Regions from separate parts of the Homo sapiens genome. Here region 2 is linked to region 1. Evidence: promoter capture Hi-C in 16 types of primary human blood cells and fetal thymus (Javierre and others, 2016). All regions are on one chromosome and are shown on one strand. Each heading gives the region's core, a stretch centred on a gene start or on the middle of the fragment in contact. The rest is flanking DNA. Distances are from core to core; before and after follow the strand shown.

Region 1 (6,616 bases), core at 1,395-3,894:
AAGACTGGGAAGTGGAAAAAGGGGACGTTCTGTGCTGAGGGTAAGAAAAAGCAGAGGTAATGAAGTATGACAGTATGAGATTTATTAGGAGGAAATATGAATATCAAATTATTGGTATTCTACTTAAGACTATGAAGAACAAAAGTGGATAGACAGGGAATCACAGGGGAGAGTGCCTCCTGAAATTTTATAACAAAAGCTGCATGGCACCTTAGCCATTCAAAAAATATATTCAGGTTTGTTATCCATAATAATTGAAGTAGGCCAATAGTTTTCAAAGTTCAGTTCAAAGTTTGGTTCAGTTAATAGTTTACTCTGCTTCATAAAATATAGAATTCCCTTCTCATCATCAGCGACTTCAAACCACAATGCCTTTTTAGGGCCAAGAAATGGAGCTATATAATAAACACTGCACAGATTCTGGAACAGGCTCTCTGGAGACAAAAGACTGAGAAAAATTCAGAAGTACTATCAGAAAATTGTCAGTCACAGGTTTAAATGGATGTGATGAAACTAGTTATGACTTAGTGGCTACTGATGGCTTATCATGCATTTTTTTAATGGAAAATGTCTTTCCTCCAGAACTTTAAAATTTGGAAATATTCATATACTAATATATTTTATGTAATAATATTAGAAGAGGAAGAACCTATATTCACATATTAATTATCATTTTTCTCACAAAGAAATAGAGATAAACCAAGACTAAGACATGGTCCCAAGATCACACAGCAATTAAGATTCAGTCCTTATTTACTATTCATTTCATTCTCTGAAACTGCAATTATATTTGCTTTCAAAGAATGTTCCAGAAAAATATAAGTGTAGAAAAAGAATAATATAGACATTAATTTCACTAAATAATATAAGCATTTTTTTTTTCTTTTTCTATCAGCTGAAAGCAGCCTAGGAGTGTTAATCCTCTTGGTGTTTCTCAACCAGACTCTTTTGCATGATAAAACAATTTTACTCTCATTGGTCTATTCTAGCATTTAAGTTAATTTTCCAACCATCTAAATTCCAAGTGTGCACCATAGAGGTTGAGCTTTTCTATCCATCTGCTACACCAATACCGTCCAGTCTATGCCAATGATTGAAGGGTATAAAAAAAGGGCCGTGTGGTCGTTTCAGTTTTGTTTTGTTTTGCAATGCAGACGCACTTGGAGCAGCAGGTCAATGAATTCTGGGAACTGCATCTTTTTGACACATGAGACCTTTGCAGAATGAATCAAAGTTAAATCCCATGAATAAATGCTAGTGTTTAATAATCATTCCGTTTATGGAAGCTTTATTGTGAATTCATAAAAGCAAGGACAATATTTCCTTGCAAGTCCACAAATCACCATCATAAGCAAGGCAATCGTGAATAAACTGAGCTGGACTGCATAGCCTCTTTGGCAGTTGCTAGTATTTAAATATGGATGGGAGAAGCAAAGACTAGGAGAAGTTGTCCTAAAGCAAGCAAATGACAGCTCCCACAAATAAAGGGAAAAATGTTAAAACAATAAACAAAAGAGAAACAATTACTTGCTCATTACAAACATGTCATATTGCATTCTTTATTTTGATTGTGGAAAATTAGCCATTGACTACCAGGAACAATTGATTTTCCTTCACAGCTGTTTTCTAATTACATCTGAACACTGAAAATTCTAGTGCAGCCATTCAGCTGTACAAAGAGAATTTTCTTTTATTATTTTTGCTATTGCTGCAAGCTCTGCCCAGAAGCATGACTATAGTTAGATGATCTGTACTGTATATATGTGGTGTTTGTATTAAAAGCCATGCTTTTCAGGGATGTTATAAGAACTCAAATATTTTAAATTACATAGGGCAGAACTTGGTGTACAAGCTGTTTTGCCCAGATGCTATTACGTAGCTTTCTCTTTCTTTTTGCCATCAAAACAAGGAAGAAGATAATGAAGATAGCTTAAATCGGTACATCCGTTTCTTAGTCACTGCATAGTCGTCAATTGGATCTATTTTTGTCATTGTGGCTTCTGATGAGTGTTTTGGCACAGTCTTACTGGGAGGGTGGAGGGTGATGGGCAGTTTCCTGTCAGTTAATTCTGTGGGTAAATTCTAAGCAAAGAGCATGGAGATTATTAACAGGCAGGATTCCAAGGTTTCAGAGAAGCAATTGAAATTTTTGGATGCTTCTCTTCAAACGCTTTAGAATTTTCCTCAAAATGATTTCAGTTTTAAAATATGGCCAGAAATATGAAACTTGCCCTTGGGAGTTTTCTAGGACTTGCGGTTAGTGAGTTCTGGAAAAATAGTTAAGATACTTCCTTCAGAGTTTAGGGTCTCTGATTAATCTTTACCATAATTTAGGTGAAATCAGCTCAGCAATGTTAACAATTCAGCAAAAATAAAGTGAAACCTTAAAATGTTTTTTTTCCAATGGAAAAAAAAACACAACATTTCAAGCCTGGGTTATTAAAGCAAAAACTGGGAGCTCTTATTTATTTACTTATTTATTTTAATTTTTTTAATTTATTTTTATTTTTTGTAGAGACAGGGTCTCACTATGTTGCCCAGGCTGGTCTACCACTCCTGGCTTCAAGCGATCATCCTTCCTCGGCCTCCCACAATTCTGGGATTACATACGTGAGCCACCACACCCGGCCAGCTCTTTGTTGCCATTTATTAAATATTTGCCCTCTTTAGAGGTAACTTTAATCAGGTATCTGTTCACTGGATGGCAATTTTTTAAGTCTTTGATCAAAACTCTAACCTCTGTAGTTCCTGTAGTAACGCAGTGTAACTTGAAATTTGCCATTTTACTTGGAAGGCTCAAAGATTCCTCAATGGCCCATCTTATTTTAGTATTTCCTTTGCCAAGATTAAGATTGAGGTGATGATTGTTTAATTAAATTAAATTTGGCTTGAGGCTGTCTCGGTACCGTAGGTCCCTACATAACAAACTACAATTTAACTAAACAAACTGAAAGCCTAATTTAGGAGTATATATTGTAACAAATTGCTAGGTCTCAGCCAGTCACAGCCGACTAGCTTCAGCCAATCACAGGCTGCCAATTGATCAGACCATGTCCAAACAAGTAAAAAATGCTAAGCTGTAACCAACCAGTTTCTGTACCTTACTTTCATTTTCTGTCCATATGTACTGCCTACCTACTTTGCAGAAGTGAGATCTCTGAACCACTCTGCTGGCTCTTGAGAGCTACTGGATTCCCAAATAATTCTCTGCTTCATTAAACTCCTTTAAATTTGTCTAAAGATTTCCTTTTAATACATTTCATCTCATTTTTATTTTTCTAAATTTTGATAACTTTCATTGACTTTTATCATAAAAATCAAGTCTAATACAAAATAAAACAATATAAAAATAAATGTATTGAAATTATATCAATTTTATTTCCTGACATATTTTCTTGATTTATATCATTACAAAAGATAAAAACTATCAGCATGGAGTTTTGAAACCATAAAAAATTTTTTTGAAAGAATGAGGAAAAGCAGCAAGAACTTTGGGTGTGATGGAGGTATGTGGTTAATTTAATAGGACTGATTTTTTTTTTAATTCTGGGATTTTTCTCACATAACCATATAATCTATTTGAAAACCAGATATTTACTAGAAGAGAGTGGCAAATATCCACTACTGAATAGATAAGAGTTTAGACATTAAAACTGAAAGCACTCTTAAGTATTTTACATGTAAAGAGGTTTAAGACACAGAACTAGTGGCCAATAAAACTGCTGAGAGGTGGCAAAATGACAGTCAGAAAAGCTGCTTTCAAGATATTTTTAAGTGAAGGAATCTCAGGAAGCCATTAACAATTATTTTAGTTGCCTACCACACCTAAGAAGATGATTCTCAGGAAGATCTCCAAAATCAATGGGCAAAAACCCATGTCTGCCATTTGTCAAAGCCCACACATTTATCCTCAGCCATGGCATGAGAACAATGGCTTCTGCTCTTCTACAACACCAAGAAATTTTCTCTTATCACTTAGATACAACTGAACCCCAATGGCAATGAAGCTTGTTTCCAGTCTTTATGTCCCTGTGAAATAAGAAACAACTTACAAATTTAGAGATGATAATACAGCAACAATATCTGAAAGAACTACACTTGAACACAAGAATTCAAACCCTAAAAGTAATAAAGTAATACCAATAATGATGTTATTTCACATACAGCTGTTCAATTGGATAATCACTGAATTGTCCTTACCGTTTAATTTATTTTTCTCCAGACTTACTCTATATGAACTATTCAACAATAGCAACAAAATAAATCAATAAATAATAAACAAGAGAGGTGAAGAATAATATCATGTGATTGATTTTTCTCTTCTTGAGAGCTTGTTTGGAAGTTCTAGCAGGGAAGCCCATCTACTCACGTGCCCTTGACTGAAGATGGGTCCTTCTCCATCGCGGATGGTCATCCTCTTTTACCGAGCACACAGCTTTGGAAGGAACGCATATGGAGTGGTGAGGAAGGAAGGGAACACCTGTCTAGTCAACCAGATCTGCTGCACCAACCCTGGCAATCAAATGGTTGATAGATGTTGCTCTTAGATTGCCCTCATATCCATAATTTTTCTCTTCTTCTTCTTCTTCCTTTTACCAAAACAACTACAACAACAACAAAACAAATAACTTTAATTTTGAAATGGCATTATGAGAAAAGGGTTCTGTATCGTGCTAATCCTTTTTTTTTTTTTTTTTTTTTTGAGACAGAGTCTGGCTCTCTCGCCCAGGCTGGAGTGCAGTGGCGTGATCTCGGCTCACTGCAACCTCTGCCTCCTGGGTTCAAATGATTCTCCTGCCTCAGCTTCCTGAGTAGCTGGGATTACAGAAGCTCACTACCACGCTCAGCTAATTTTTGTATTTTTAGTAGAGACGGGGTTTCACCACGTTGGCCAGGCTGTTCTCGAACTCCTGACCTCATGATCCGCCCACCTCAGCCTCCCAAAGTGCTGGGATTACAGCTGAGCCACCACACCCAGCCTGTGCAAATACTTTTTATGAGGAAATCATAGAAAAAGTATCTGTTAGTTGACAGGCAGTATCCATATTACAGTGTTTGGTTTGAGCACTTGAGTTGTTCTGAAGCTAGGTTACCATGAAAATAAATACAGTGATACTTGGAATCAGAGAACACATATGGTCAGCATTTTCCAGATGGCATATTTATGTCAAATGTATAGACATTATAAGAAAAAATATTATAAGTCAATATTAAGAAGACTCTCTAAATATTTAGGTAAATACAATGCACTGTTCCCTCCGCCCAGAAATAGAGTATGATCCTGGCACCTTGCCAAGAAACACATAGAAATATCCTTGTACGTTGTGCTTATAGTAGATAATCTGAAAAGTTTCATCCAAATCTTAAATTCTAGATATGAATAGTTTGTAATAAAGTGTTAGAAGGATCAAGATTAAAAATTATTTGCATATGGTTCCCAACGCCTCTTAGTAATCAGTGGATGATAAGTTCCTTGTAACTTATTTTAATAAAAAGTCTTGAGTACAGAATGTGAGTATATTATAGACTAAATATTTATATTCCTTCCCCCAGATTCATATATTGAAGGCCTAACTGCCAATATGACTGTATTTGTGTATTTGGGGAAGAAGCCTCTACAGATATAATTAAGGTTAAATAAGATCATTAAATTGGGACACTAATCCAATAGAAATAATGTCTTTATAAGAAGAAACACCAGAGAGAAAAATAACTTTCTCCTCTCTCTCACTCTCTCTCTTTCTCTCTCTCTCTAGCTGTCTCTCCAGGAGGACACAAAGAAAAGATCAAGACAGCATGTAGCAAATGTAGCAAGGAGGCATCCAATCATCTGCAACCCAAGGGGCAAACCCTCGCCACACACCAACCCTGCTGGCTCCTTGCTTTTGGACTTCCAGTTTCAGAATTATGAGAAAATACATTTCTGTGTTTAGGCCATCAAGTCTATTGTATTTTGTTCTGACAGCCTGAACAGACTAATACACAGTATAATACAATTGAATTGTTGATTCATCTAAGAAATATATAATTTCTACATGGTTTGTTGCAATTATCTGGGAATAAATATTACCATGACCACTTATTCAGAACTTGATATCTGTATTTATTTCTAAGCATGCATATAATCCCATTACTTGGTAGTCATTTGAATGTATGTTCCACACTTACACCAAAAAGTGATAATAGTATTGACTTCATATAAGAAGTCTTGATAGTCAGTAGTATTGACTTCACATAAGAAAATATTATAAATTAATTCCAATTCCAATTTATGAAGATATTATAAATTTAATATCTCTGAATGTAAATTCTCGGTTGTTCTAGATATAAAAATAAATTATTGATTTATTTTGCTAAGCTACTATAAAACACAATAAAATTTAAAAGCCTCAATTTTGCTGATTGTTTACTATTACAAATCATGCTGGAATGGACATTCTCATATTCTGTTTAGTCTTAATCCTTCCCCCACCAAATCCAATGGAGTCAAGGATTTGGACACAGACACTTTATTTTGAAGTTGATCCCAGGCACCAAAAATGAGAAAAGAAAGAAAGGGAAATAGGTAAGAGAAAAGGGGCAATAAAGTTACGTCTTAACAAGCTTGAGTACCACA
Region 2 (7,011 bases), core at 3,736-6,235, 2.7 Mb before region 1:
CTTTCACTATTAACAGTTCCCAAAAGGCTTGCTCATCTACAATAGCACAGCTCTGAAGGCCTTCAGTGCTGGATAGTTCAGATCCAGTCTCTTGGCACCCTTTTTAGAGGGTGTCTCAAGGAATCTTACCAAGTTTTATAATAGTAGTCATAGTACAGTATGGCTTTTGAAATAACTTATTTTTTCAGGTCTGAGCTGTAAAGCAAGCCTATATAACACCTCACTATGGCCCATTTCTCTTAACTGGCCTTCCTGTTTCCATTCTTCTATAGAATAATCTTTTAAAAATGTAACTTAGACCATGTCATGCCTTAAAACTCTCCAATGCCTATTGCTGTGCTTAGGGGAAAAAATACAGATTTCTTATATTGGTTTAAAAAACCCTTCCTGACCTGACCCTCTGGCAACCTTGGGGACTTCATCTCATACTACTTCTTGTCCCCCTGCACTCCAGACCACTACGCTGGCATTCTTTCAGTTCCGTGAACATGCCGAGCTCATTTCTGCTTTATGACTTCTTATCTTTTTTCTTAGCTGTTTCCTGAGCCAGACACGCAAAGAAGCATTAAGCAGTTACTATCTTGGCCAAGGCATTCCGGCATCAGGGGAAATGGAAGTGGAAGCACACTTAGAAAATGATGGATAGGCTTCTGGGTAAAAACAAACAAAAACAAGAAACAAACAAAAAACATCTCTTCCCTATAAGAACCACAAAGGACAATACAGGAATGACTGTGCTTCAGGCACTGAGAGTATCCATTTGCTTTGAGATACCTGCCTTCCCCTTTAGAGCAACAGTCCCCAATCTTTTTGGCACCAGGGACCAGTTTAGTGGAAAACAATCTTTCCATGGATGGGGCGGGGTGGGGGTTGGGGATGAAACTGAAACTGTTCCACCTGAGATCATCAGGCTTTCGTTAGATTCTCATAAGGACCACCGCCCACCTAGATCCCTTGCATGCGCAGTTCACATTAGGGCTCAGGCTCCTATGAGAATCTCATGCCACTGCTGATCTGACAGTAGGTGGGAGCTCAGGTGGTAATGCTCCCTCACTGGCTGCTCACCTCCTGCTGTGTGGCCCAGTTCCTAACAGGCCACGGACTAGTTCCAGTCTACAGCTGGAGGCTGGGGACTCCTGCTTTCATAGCGCCCTAACTTTCTGAAGGGAAAGGACAATGCATGTTTGTAGCTCAACTAATGAGGCTGTACAAGAGAGGCTTCCAAACCCATTCATCACCTGAGGACCTTACAGAAAGAGAGGTTCCTGACTCAAGTAAAATGTGAAAAAAGTTATGACACTTCTGATTCGAATGGAAACTTGAATACTTACTGAATATTTAATAACATTAATCATTCATTGCTGCTTAGGAATCATAAAGGCATTGTGGTGAAGTCTTTAAAAGTTTTAATCTTTTAGCAATCTATATTAAAATATTAGGGATTAAATTATATCTGAGATTTACTTCAACATAATACTAGAGACTGAAAAATGTCAGAAGAGGGGCTTTTTTTTTTTACAGGTTTCATCTGAATACATATTTATCAGATCAATATTACAGGTTATCACATTATCTACTACATACAGCTTTGCAAGACAGAAATCACAGTTTTCTGGCCAAGGTATGAAATGATTGCATTGTATATACAATGTACAAGGACAATGACAGTTTCTGGGTGATTTACTTCTAGCTGCACTTGTGGGTGTGTTTACGCGTGTCCATGTGAATCACCTGAGATTATGATATCAAAAATTTATAAGTATAAATTCGGTTATAATTTTCTTCTCAAATGCCTGTTTCTTTTCTTATCCTCATAGCACCCTAAAAAATAACATAACAAAAATTCCATTCCATAAAGGATCAGGGTCAACGTCACTGGTAACAGCTATAATCGACATCATTGGCCAGGGGTTAATGGCTGGATGAGGGATTCATTATAGTCTTCTGTCTTCCTCAGTATATGTTTGAAATTTTCCATAAGACAAATTTTTTTTAAATAGAGATTTCTGGGCCCCCAGCAGATTTTTCTCTCAATGGCTCTCCACTGCCACTACTAGGAAATTCGCCAGCAGTATTCCTCCTTACCTACCTATGCTATACAATGTATGAGTACTGGGAGGCAGGGGAAGGGTCTTGTTAATCAAAGCTCCCATCCTCTAAATATAATCCTCAGGAAGAAAGTATATGATTGGAGTAATTTATACAAGGTCTGCATTTAACAGTTAATCCAAAGAATGGATGCTTACAGTTTAAAGGAATTAAAGGAAAATCTAGAAAATCTGAAAGATCATTTCTCTCAGGGAGGAACTCTAGATTTTAGATTAAAGAAATCACACTTGAAACTGTACCTCTACAACAACTCTATCTTGCGTCACTCTGTCCCTAGCCCAGTACAATTCACCTCACTAACCCTCTGCTTCCTCAAACATGTTAAAGTTCATTTTGCCTAATGGCCTGCATTTTAGCCGTATGTTCTATTCAAGAATGCTTCTTTTCTTCTCCTTCTCCTTCTTATTTTTTTTTTATTTTTTTGAGACAGGGTCTCATTTTGTAACCCAGGCTGGAGCACAGTGACATGATCATGGCTAACTGCAGCCTTGACCTCCTGGGTTCAGGTGATCCTCCCACTTCAGCCACTCAAGCAGCTGGGACTACAGGCCTGCATCACCATGCCCAGCTAATTTTTGTATTTCTTGTAAAGACAGGGTTTTGCTATGTTGCCTAGGCTGGTCTCCAGCTCTTAGGTTCAAGCTATTTGTCTGCCTCAGCCTCCCAAAGTGCTGGATTACAGGCAAAAGCCACCGTGCCTGGCACTCAAGGACTCATTTTCCTCAGATCATTCCATGGCTGGCTCATGCACTTTATTCATATCTCTACCTCAAAGCTGCATTTTCGGGAAGGCCTTCCCTGATACTTCTCCTTCAGTACAAACTACTTTTGACCTTAAGCTGTTATTTCAGGACTCTCATCTGACTAAATGAAACTATTTTATTTGCATACTAATTTATTGTCAGTCTCTTATATCGGGAATATAAGATCTCTGACTATAAAGCTCTTGTACCTTTTGTTGATAGATGCATCCTGACCTCCTATCACAGGGTGTGGCTAAAATAGGGACTTAAAATAGGTATTCAAAACCTGAATACCTATTTCTGAATACCTGAAACATGTCCATTTAGAAGGGTACTTTCCTGTGTCCCTACATCATGTTGGAGGTTGTAAACACAAATGCTACAGGGCTCAGATGGGTACTAAAGACAAAGAAAAACTAGATATTACTTGAACTGAGGTAAAGGAGGCAGATGCTTTCCAGCTTGAACCATTGTTGCCAGGCTACAATGCACATCTAACGTAGTCAGATCTTCCCGTTAATTCATGGGATGCCACATTGTTTTTATTCTTTCAATTTTAGCTGTTAGCAACCAATTTGAAAAAAAAAAAAGTAGCATGTGAATCACCAGTTGCAAGCTCTGTTCATACAAATAAGACAATTCGACATTAATTAAAAGGAGAAACTGGGAAAAGATATTGAGCAGACTGTACAGTAGTGTTTGTAATGGTGAAAAATGGGAAACAACCTAAACATCCATCACTATGGGAATTCCCAAATAATTTGTGACAAATCTATTTGATAAAGTCTAGCTATATTTATCAATGTGGATAGCTCTCAAAAACACAGAATTTGGTGAAAAAATCAAGTTGCAGATCAATACACAAAATATAATAGCATTCATGTAAAACTTCAAATGCCCCAAACCATTCTACATATTGTTTATAATACATAGTAATAGTTTAAATATAGAAACCTAGATTGGCAAGATACATATCAAATTCATGATCCTGGTTGCCTCTCTGAGGGTGGTAGTAGAATGGGACTGAGAATAGGGAACACCTTCTTTATCTGTAATGCTCCATTTCTTTCATTCATAAATCTGTTCGTTCTGGATAGTGGGTGCGTTGTTTATTCTGTGCTTTTTTTTTTTAACATTTCAATAGTTTTGTTTTTTTTTTTTAAATGGCGGGTGGCGGAAGAACATCCTATCCTAGAAGCCAAGAGACTGGGGTTGTCTTTGCTCTGCCTTTTCTGGCATGGATACAATCTCTAGATATGGTTTCCCCATTAGCTAATGCGGGGGGTGCTATGTGGTGTTCCTCCAGAGTCCCTTCAATCTAAGGACCTGTGAATCTAAAACCTTCCCACCTCCCACTCCAACACCGGGAAGGCTACCCAGACCAGGCAATGAAACGTGCATTTCTTCCCTCATTTAAGATAGATCTCTTTCTCTCAGCCTGCAATTCCTTCTCCAGAGGCTTTAAGTATAGTGGAAGTAGAACTATCTTTGACGACAGAGAGACACCTGCATCAATTAGCCTTTCTGAGCCTCAAATTCCCCATTTGTAAAACAGAGAGTATAACACCTACCCATAAAATTGTAGAGAGGTTTAGATACACCGTTATGTGTAGGGCCCGAACAGAGTAGCTATTAATAGTGGTAACAGACTCTCAATTAGGGGCTCAACATCATGGTCGCTGAACAGAATCACGGTCGCTGAACAGAATCACACTCTTCACGCCGCCTTGGAGCCAAAATTAGTTTAGCCGCGAGAAGTCCGGGCAACCAATCGGAAACAACCAAGGAACAGTTGCATGGCGACACTCTGGTTCCGCCTTCGGGCATGCTCGAACAGCATTCTGGGAATTGTAGTTCGGGGGGGGAATCTAACACTCACCGAGGGGCGGAGTAGCTTCCGGAAAGGGTACTGCATTTCCCGTTTCTACCTCCACTGCACCCGCTTATTGCGTCTTGCTCCTGGGTCACAGAGCCTAAAACGACACACCCAACACGCCCGCCGGAGTTACAGCTAAAGGAAGGACAGGGGAAGCAATGAAATGCCGAGGGCGGAGCCAAGAGCGACACTGGGGGAGCAGGAAAAGGCGGGGCTTCCGCTTGGGGCATGGAGGCTGTACCTCTTACGTCACTTCCGTAAACAAACGGAGCTGCGGAGGAGCGGGTCCCGGGATGTGACCGGGGCTCTGCTTGTGGCTGCGGCGGTGGCTTCTGAGGCTGTCGGGTCTTTGCGGGTTGCGGAAGGGGGCCCCAATACCCTTCTTCTTCAGGTATGTAGTGGAAGCAAAGGAACCTCCGCAACCTGCCCCTTTAGGCCCTTCCCACCACTCTGGTCACTGCTGGGTACTGGGCGGTGAAGGGTCATCGCTTCGGTAGATTGGGGAAGGGGAATGAGGTGATGTCAAGAGGGATGCCCAGTGGTACTGCTTGGAGGCAAGACCTGGCACTTAAAACCACTGTGTGAATAAGTAACTATGAGCAGTTTACTTATTATGCCTTCTCTAAAACATTCTTTGCTGTTTGATATACAGGAAGGGTTTCAGTGCTCTTGTGACAGATGTAATTTTCCAAAAACGAGGAAATCGCGAGTGCTGGCTCCGCAGAATATTGTGGTTTAGACCACCACTGGTTTATTTGCATTGCTTTACTTCCTAGATTTTTTTTTCTTGTACCACCAAGTGTGTATTAGCATCGTTAAATTTCAGGCCAGCGTGTTTATGCGTATCATACATTTTTACAGATCCTTGCCTCTTCAGAGAACTAATCGTCTCTATTCAGTCATCTTTCAAACTCTCATTTAATTTGTGTTGCATGTTGAAACAACACCAGAATTATTGTTCTGTTACAAAAAATGCTTCTTAAAAGAAAAATTGTTAGCCAAGGTTTAAGTGGATTGACACCCAGTGGTATCTGGGATTAGAGACTGGGCATTGGAGCCTTTCCCAGAAAGCCTCTTCTTTGGCAGTATTGTAGCTCCAGTTGTAATTGTCTAGCGTCAGCCAATTTAAGCTCAGTGGTTTAAATTCCAGTGCCAGTGGCACTAAGTCCAGGCAAAAGGAAAAAGAAAAATTTATTGAATTCATCAAATAATTATTTTAAGCGACAGCAATGGGTTTGAATCTTTTTGAATGGTCATGGCATGCCTAAATTAAACACAGCATGCCAAAAACGGCCTAATGTTTCTAGAAGGCAATTTACAACCTGATGAGGTAGAGATAGCCATATAAATTCATCTTATGATATATGAAATAATGAAGTTAAGAAAAATTTAACACTATGCACAAATAAAGTATGGAAGGGGTTTTTTTGTTTTGTTTTGTTTTGTTTTGTTTTGTTTTTGAGACGGAGTCTCGCTCTGTCGCAGTGGCACCATCTCGGCTCAGGGCAAGCTCCGCCTCCCGGGTTCATGCCATTGTCCTGCCTCAGCCTCCTGAGTAGCTGGGACTACAGGCGCCCGCCACCACTCCCGGCTAATTTTTTGTATTTTTAGTAGAGACGGGGTTTCACCGTGTTAGCCAGGATGGTCTCGATCTCCTGACCTCGTGATCCGCCCGCCTTGGCCTTCCAAAGTGCTGGGATTACAGGCGTGAGCCCGGCCGGAAGGGTATTTTTTAAATAGATGGATGTTAGAAAATAGAGCGGATTAATAGATAAAGTAAGGGGATTGTGTAGGGATAACTAGGAGGCCTTACACGTATTCCGCATGGAAGGGCCATCTGTAACTTCACATTGTTAACTTTTTTGATATGGGCAAAACTAAATATATATCATAAAATTCACGTTTGTTTGGAAATGGTTAGAGAAAGTATATTCAAAATAGGCAACGAACAAGTTTGATTTTCTAGAACTTCACTTATCACCAAGCTAGAATCATTATTAGCCCTAGCTAGAAACTGAGTTTCTGTTTAGTAGTTGAAGTAAGGCTTCTAGTTGATTTTTAAAATGCTAGTAAAATCCCTATGACAATTATACATCTGTTTGAATCTACTTGGTTCTTCTTAAGCATACATTTTGGAAGAAAGACCTAAAGGCCACCTGAAGCTTGAATCAGGCTGGGAATATTATGTGGATCATTTGTTTATTGTTTATATGTTGTTCCCCTTGTAAAATGTAGGCTTCTTGAGGTCAAACACCTTGTTCAGTGCCGTCTCTCCAGTACCCA

What was found. Contacts are between HindIII fragments. The CHiCAGO score rates a contact against its expected background, and 5 or more counts as called.
Region 2: the fragment with the promoter of CCDC28A here is called in contact with a fragment that was not itself captured in region 1 in 1 of 17 cell types (naive CD4 T cells); the score reaches 6.4 in naive CD4 T cells.

The regions. Positions count from the first base shown.
Region 1 is chr6:141,481,851-141,488,466 of GRCh38, forward strand. It overlaps the pseudogene RN7SKP106. Among named protein-coding and RNA genes, the nearest start is that of GJE1, 650 kb to the right of the region's middle. RefSeq lists an enhancer at 1,772-1,911. The HindIII fragment of the contact is 2,721 bases long and covers 1,285-4,005 here.
Region 2 is chr6:138,768,784-138,775,794 of GRCh38, forward strand. It overlaps CCDC28A (coiled-coil domain containing 28A), which reads left to right and starts at 4,986. Exons shown (of 6, transcript NM_015439.3): 1 at 4,986-5,119. It overlaps CCDC28A-AS1 (CCDC28A antisense RNA 1), which reads right to left and starts at 4,920. Exons shown (of 3, transcript NR_161205.1): 1 at 4,732-4,920. RefSeq lists enhancers at 4,037-4,711, 4,712-5,385, 4,749-4,798, 4,819-4,878, 5,239-5,298. The HindIII fragment of the contact is 8,118 bases long and covers 1-6,888 here.